Linked DNA regions of Homo sapiens: region 1 is linked to region 2. The links are contacts of gene promoters, found by promoter capture Hi-C in blood cells and fetal thymus (Javierre and others, 2016). All regions are on one chromosome and are shown on one strand. Each heading gives the region's core, a stretch centred on a gene start or on the middle of the fragment in contact. The rest is flanking DNA. Distances are from core to core; before and after follow the strand shown. Region 1 holds the start of EMC2 (ER membrane protein complex subunit 2). Region 2 holds the start of UTP23 (UTP23 small subunit processome component).

The links. Contacts are between HindIII fragments. The CHiCAGO score rates a contact against its expected background, and 5 or more counts as called.
Region 1: the fragment with the promoter of EMC2 here is called in contact with the fragment with the promoter of UTP23 in region 2 in 1 of 17 cell types (naive CD8 T cells); the score reaches 8.7 in naive CD8 T cells.

What each region holds. Positions count from the first base shown.
Region 1 is chr8:108,442,270-108,445,301 of GRCh38, reverse strand. EMC2 (ER membrane protein complex subunit 2) reads right to left here and starts at 1,678. Exons shown (of 11, transcript NM_014673.5): 1 at 1,604-1,678. The coding sequence starts at 1,643. LOC105375704 (a long non-coding RNA gene) reads left to right here and starts at 1,830. Exons shown (of 3, transcript XR_928530.4): 1 at 1,830-1,932. RefSeq lists a silencer at 1,725-1,844. The HindIII fragment of the contact is 5,303 bases long and covers 1,251-3,032 here.
Region 2 is chr8:116,765,010-116,768,265 of GRCh38, reverse strand. UTP23 (UTP23 small subunit processome component) reads right to left here and starts at 1,742. Exons shown (of 3, transcript NM_032334.3): 1 at 1,475-1,742. The coding sequence starts at 1,662. It also overlaps a transcript of EIF3H not described here. RefSeq lists enhancers at 1,356-1,665, 1,676-1,825. The HindIII fragment of the contact is 9,967 bases long and covers 751-3,256 here.

The sequences.
Region 1 (3,032 bases), core at 429-2,928, 8.3 Mb after region 2:
ACATAATCATATTAGCACTAGCTAATAGTAACACATCCTTTTATATAGTACTTAACAGTTTACAAAGCACTTTAAAATGTTTTCTTTGTTCCTACAAATTTGTGTAGTAGTTATTATTTATTATTCCAAATTAATTACATCAATCCTCTTTAGAATGACCACAGGGTAAGGTCCAATTACTCAGTTAAATCACCTTGTCTGTTGGTAGTATACAGCTACTCGTCCCTCAGGATTTTATATATGCTACTATCATCTAGGAAACCTATAATGAACATACCTTCATAATAGCATTTTCTAAAAATTATGTAATATTTAAAACATTTTTTAAAAAGCATTAAAAATAACATCCATTTATCTACGACTCAGCTTACGGAAGATACCCTGACACAAGCCTTTTAAAACTGTGTGTTTACAGGTTTGTTTTCTCCATTAGATTGTGACTTCCTTGGAAGTGGGGACTGTGTGTTGACAGAGCCAAGATTTTGCAGTAAGAAATCAACACTGTTGTTTAATATAATGGAATCCCTCAATTCAGGTATAAATACTGAGATTCACAACGTGCTAGAGGCCATAAAGTCAATAAATCATTTAATTCAGTTCAAGTACAAAGAAATTTTGCTTTATTTGTAACGGATTTACAACTTTATAATAACTGATATATTTATTCACGATAAAACAGAAAATACAACTTTCGGTCCACATGTTTTCAGGTCATTATTAAAACATCCCAAGAAGGCATTCGTTAAGCAAATTAGCTACTGAAGTCTCCTGTATTATGTTAAATGCTGGGAATATGAATTCCAATTACACAAATTCCACGCCTTAATGAAACTCAAGTTTCTTAAGCACACAGAATTGATCCAAGGTTTGGCTGTTCCCAGATTTAAAGAACATATCCCACTCTAGATCAACTAAGGATAGGGAAAAGTGACCATCACACGTAAGCACTTACGTAGCCCAGAGTTAATTAGTTATTTTTCCCTTCAGAAAAGAAACTACTAGTAGGGAGTAAGAAAGAAGTTGTGTTGTGTGTGTAAATGTGTTTTGAGAAGGAGTGGGACAGAGACTAGACTAAAAGGAAAAGAAACTGGAAACCCGGGTTTAAGAAGAAAACTAAATGTAGAGTGGCATATGAGAATCACATTTGTTCACGCATCTTTTACACAGCTTTTCTGCACAGAGCTGTAATCCTTACACACCACTTAGTAAAGGGCCTTACAGGCCCTGTGTTTCTTGGCTCCAAAGAAGCTTCAGTAACCACCTATTCCGCCTCTTCCGCACCGCCCAGCAACCAGTTAGCGTGCGACAACCCCAGCCCCAAGTCCCTCCCGCCCGCCTCATAAATAAAAGCGGCCCCGGGACGCTGGACTGGCGCGGAGGAGGGCAGGTCAACCGAGGAGCAGACACCGTGGGAAACGCTGCAGAGTACGCGTCCGGGCCAAGGGAAGGGTCAGCCTCAGCCTCCACCTCAGCTTGGCCCGTACAGTGAGGGCTCTGGTACCAAAAAGACACCAGAGAACCCAGCTCCCCGAAAGCAGCGGGTACTCCCGAACGGCTTCCCAGCGCTTTTAGTCTTTCCGCACCCGCCCCCACCCGAAGTTACCTTCCCAAGTGACATCGTAAAGCTCTGAGACCTTCGCCATCTTCCCAGAACCTAGAGGCAGCGGGGTGAGAGGGCGGGGAGACGCAGTCACGTGACCCGCCACCGGGCGGTGGAGAGTTACGTAGCTTTTTCTCATTGGCCAAGAGAGCAGAGGGGGCGGTATCCGCCACGCACGTGCACGCGGCTCTGCGGAGGGGCTTTCGGGGAAGGGGGCGGAGCGAGCTGGGCGGAGCGAGCTGGACGGTGGACGGAGCTAGGTGGGCGGTGCGTGGCGCTCCCGCAATCTCAGGATACCCTGGCTGCTGGCGGGGCTACGGTGCTGGCTCGGGGTGAGGTGTGTGTGTGTGTTGACGTGGATTTTTAACAAATGCTGGGTTTTTAGTGTCCGTCAATCCTGGCTTTTCAGTTTTTTCTACCTAGGCTTGTTCATTCTCTTCACACTCCCTTAAGTACCCTTATTCTCTTCATGGCCGGCCGCAGTGCAGCCTTCTGCACGAATCCCTTATTTGTCCCCAACTTTCCTCCTTCCGTAATGGGATTTGCTTTCCGTTCACTTTTTAATCGACTAAACGGATAAACTCCAAAGTTTTGAGAGACTAAGTGGGATTCTTCCTTTGCGCTCTGAAGTTCCCTTGAATGCCCTCGCGCTAGCTTATACCCTTCATTAACGCTCGTCGTGCCTGTCATTGCTTCATCCATGTCTGCATGCCACACTAGGTTTCAAACTGTCGCGAGTATGTAAGTACTTATAAGGAATGAATGTACGAATGAGACCTTCACAGTTCCTGAACTTCGCTCCTCATTACTCCTGGGTGGATGGGGGAGCCTCCTTTCCCACCAGACTAATTGCTTTTAGGAAACTTTGGACGTCATCTCCTAGACTTAAGGAGAAATGTCTGGACAGGAAGTAAAAAATTTGAGGATGATAAGCGTATATTTAGTATTTGAAGCAATGGGGACATGAGATTGTAGAGGAAATATGTAAGCTGAGAAAAAACTAAAAATCACTGCAATGCAGCCGAAAGTTATTGGTCAGTAAAGAAGGGGCAGTTGATTTGAGAAGTAGAAATAATACTATCCCACAAGTCAAAAGAGTGGAGGGTTTTTTTTCTCAGCTTTATTGAGGTGTAATGGACAAAAATTGTGTATATTTAAGGTATACAAAGTAATGATTAGATGTAAATATACACTGTGAAATGATTACCACAAGCAAGCTAATTAACACATCTATCACCGTACATATTTCCTGTGTGTGTGTGTGTGTGTGTGTGTTGAGAACACTTAAAAATCTCTCAGCAAACTTCAAAGTATACAATACAGAATTATAACTGTAGTCACCATGCTGTACATTCGATCTCCAGAACATATTCATCTTACAACCAAAAGTTTGTACTATTTGACCAACATCTCTCCATTCCTCACCTGTCGG
Region 2 (3,256 bases), core at 493-2,992:
AGGAGCAAAGACTACTGAAGGATTTGTTAGACAGCCCTAAAGACTAAGGGGATCAAAACTTTGGGGGTATCTGTAACCCAGCCGAGACCCTGCTTGAGAAATTCTGAACAAATACAGATAGCTGTTCATTAAGTAATCGTATGTGAGGAAAAGGAGACTATTAACACAGTATACACAGAAAAAGCCCATACTTTGTTATGGCTGTAGTTAGAGATGGGGGTTTCCTACGTTGCTCAGGCTCACCTCAAACTCCTAGACTCAGGCAACCCTCCTGTCTCAGCCTCCTGTGTAGCTACTAGGATTACAAGTGTGAGCCACCTTGCCTGGCTTAAAAGTCCATTCTTGTGCTTGTGTGAGTGTGTATAAAGAACTGGATGGATGACACTGCACATGTTAACAGTGATTATTCGTGAGTAGTGGTATTATGAGTCATTTTAATTTTCTTTTTTTGCTTTTTAAAAGTAAATATTCTACAATGAAAAAACTACTAAATTTCTTAATAGTTCTTCATGGCCTAGCCTCAATTTGCCTTCTTCCTAGTTTCACTCCCAAATATATTCTGTGCTGCAACCTCTTTCCCAGGCATTTCATAACTCCATTTCGTGTGAAGAGGTCTCCACAACAAGAAGTGTCATTCTTTTCTGTCATTCAAAATAGTTCTTCCTCTCAGAACTGAACAAGTGAATGGGCTCAAATGTTATCTGAAATCTGTCACAATTCTCTCCTCTCTCCTCTTCATCCCGACAAGCTTCCATCCTAAGTGTTCCCACATTTCAATGAAGTGGGGAAACATCAGACCTAGAGTGAAAACACACACTGCAGACTGACTTATGCACTTTACTGGCCATGAGGGAGCAGTATGTGGCATATAGGAGGTACTTAATAAAGCGAGTTGAATAAACAAATGTGCTTGGGCAGATTCCTTAATCTCAAGTACTGACTTTTTGCCCTGGACATCAAAGATGGTAACTCACAGGTTCACTGTGAGGCTTGCAGAGTTTTGGTTTAAACTAAGAAAAGCTATGCAAATGACAGCAACCATTTGAAGACGGGTACACTTTGGATACCGAAAAATGCTCTAGTACACTATACTCGTTTGAGCTTACAGCAATCTTCTAAGCAGTTATCATCTTTATTTTACAAATGAGGAATCCGAGGCTCAGAGAGGCTAAATAACTTGACAGAAATCACAGAGCTGGTAGAACTGGGATCAAGATTCGAAGTCGGATCTCTCTGCTATAATGTGCTCTCATTCGCCAGGCTAACGACACGTGATATTCACAGGGCACTGTCCAATCTGCCTCTATTATAGGTATTCGCCTGACCACCTTCACCTCTCCACTTAACTGTCAACTCCACGTGGGCGGGGCGTTTTGCACCTCCTGAGCTCGCAATGAAGGTCTGTGAGCAACGGCCTCGCCTCTACAACACCCGACGGACCCTCTGTGCCTCCTCCCCAGCCCCCCGGGCCCACCTTGTGGTGCACAGCTGCGTCTCCCCCATGAGGTAGCGGGGCAGCTGCTCCCGCAGCTGGATGCGGCCCCGCAGCGCCGCCTGACAGAAGGTGCCGTCCAGCAGGATCTGGTACGGCTCGCGGACTCCGAAGTTGTTGCGGAAGAAGCCAAGATGCTTCTTGGCATGTTTCTGCCTTGTGATCTTCATGCCTGGCTTACCGGGACCGAGGCCACCGGACCAGGAAGCATCAGTAAACGCCTCACGCACGCCCCAGTACCCTCAATGCCAGTTTCACCCGGAAATGAAGCGCCTTTGGCCACGGAAGCAAACGCCTCTGTCTTCCGGGCCTGCCCATTGGTTTACGTCATGTCCAGACCAGCGCGCGCTTCCACCGCAGTGCCCGCGCTTAAAGGGGCGGTCCCTTAGGGCGGAACTTGTGCGTACGCTGGAAAACCGCTGGGGTGCGCGATTCCGCACGGGGGCGCACATGCGCAGTCTGGGGCCACGGTAAAAGAAAATTACGAGAATACATTTAGCGTGTTACCTACGTTTTAGAGGCGCGTAGCAAGAGCTTCTCTGAAAGACTGGCAGTATAGTAGTAGTCAGTGATAATATTGAGCCTTAATATGTTCCAGACACTGTCCTAAGTGATTTACCTTACATTATTCCCCTGAATGTTTATAATTCCCAAGTGAAAGAAGGAAATGATATATTGGATAGCTATGAGTGGGGAGGTTTGTACTGGCTGCTTTCCCATAAAGAAATTAAGCACGTTCACGAAGGGCACGTAGTTTGTTAGTGTCTGGAACCCAGTTTTCGTGCCTGAAGTTCAAATGTTCTTGCTACACCACCATAGAAACTAACGTCACTCAGGAACCATTTGTCAGGGCAAAGGGTGCCACCATTTTGCATTTCCTCCTGCCTTAGGACCATCCTAAATCACTCGCATGGAGTGTTTTGGAAGAACTCTCAAGAGCTTCGTTTGCCTAGAGTCAGAATTCCTAACCTTGAGTCCTGGTTTTGCCACAAACCCAAGCCGTTTGATCTTGGGCAACTCCCGAAGAAAGCTGGGTTCAACTTCCTCACTGTCAAACTGGTTGTAGGTCTAGATAAGTTTCAAGTACTCTTTTTATGTGCATGGTCTCTGACATAGGAAGACTACATACTGGGCCAGTAACAGGAAGGCACAAAGCTGACTGGAGGTTTAAAAATTACTTGGTCAATTTGATTAATGAGGAGAATGAATCAGAAAATTTCAAGTTCTCCCGTGGCTAACTGTCGAGTATCCACTTCAAGGTAAAATAATCAAAGAATGGGGAGTATGGAATTTTGCATTTTTGTCCTTGCCTGGAATCTGTCCCAGATCTAGTTTTGGCTAAAGATTGAAAGAACCAGCACAGAAAATGATTTACAACGTGATTGAATGCATTGTTTGCATTTGGGGTTTTATTTCAATATGTAGGTTTATGAAATTGGAATAAGATCTATAATGTTAGCCCTGATCTGAGTCCCAGCACATCACTTAGATGGTTGCTTTCATTTAAACTTAAAATGAATTTAGGAATTGGAAGCCATGAAAACTTTTGCAGGGTTGGATTCAAGGTCTTTGAGTGTAATTGCTCAGTACTTTTCAATTTGAATCCTCTTTTTATCCCTGTATGCCAACTCTCTACTCCAACTATGCGCCCACCACAGACAGAGAAACGAGATACCACCTGAGTCTTGCAAAACAGTTAAAACATTTTTTCTTAAATAGCCTCAGATTTATCTACCAGCTCCTTGGCCACTTTTCAGTACTAAG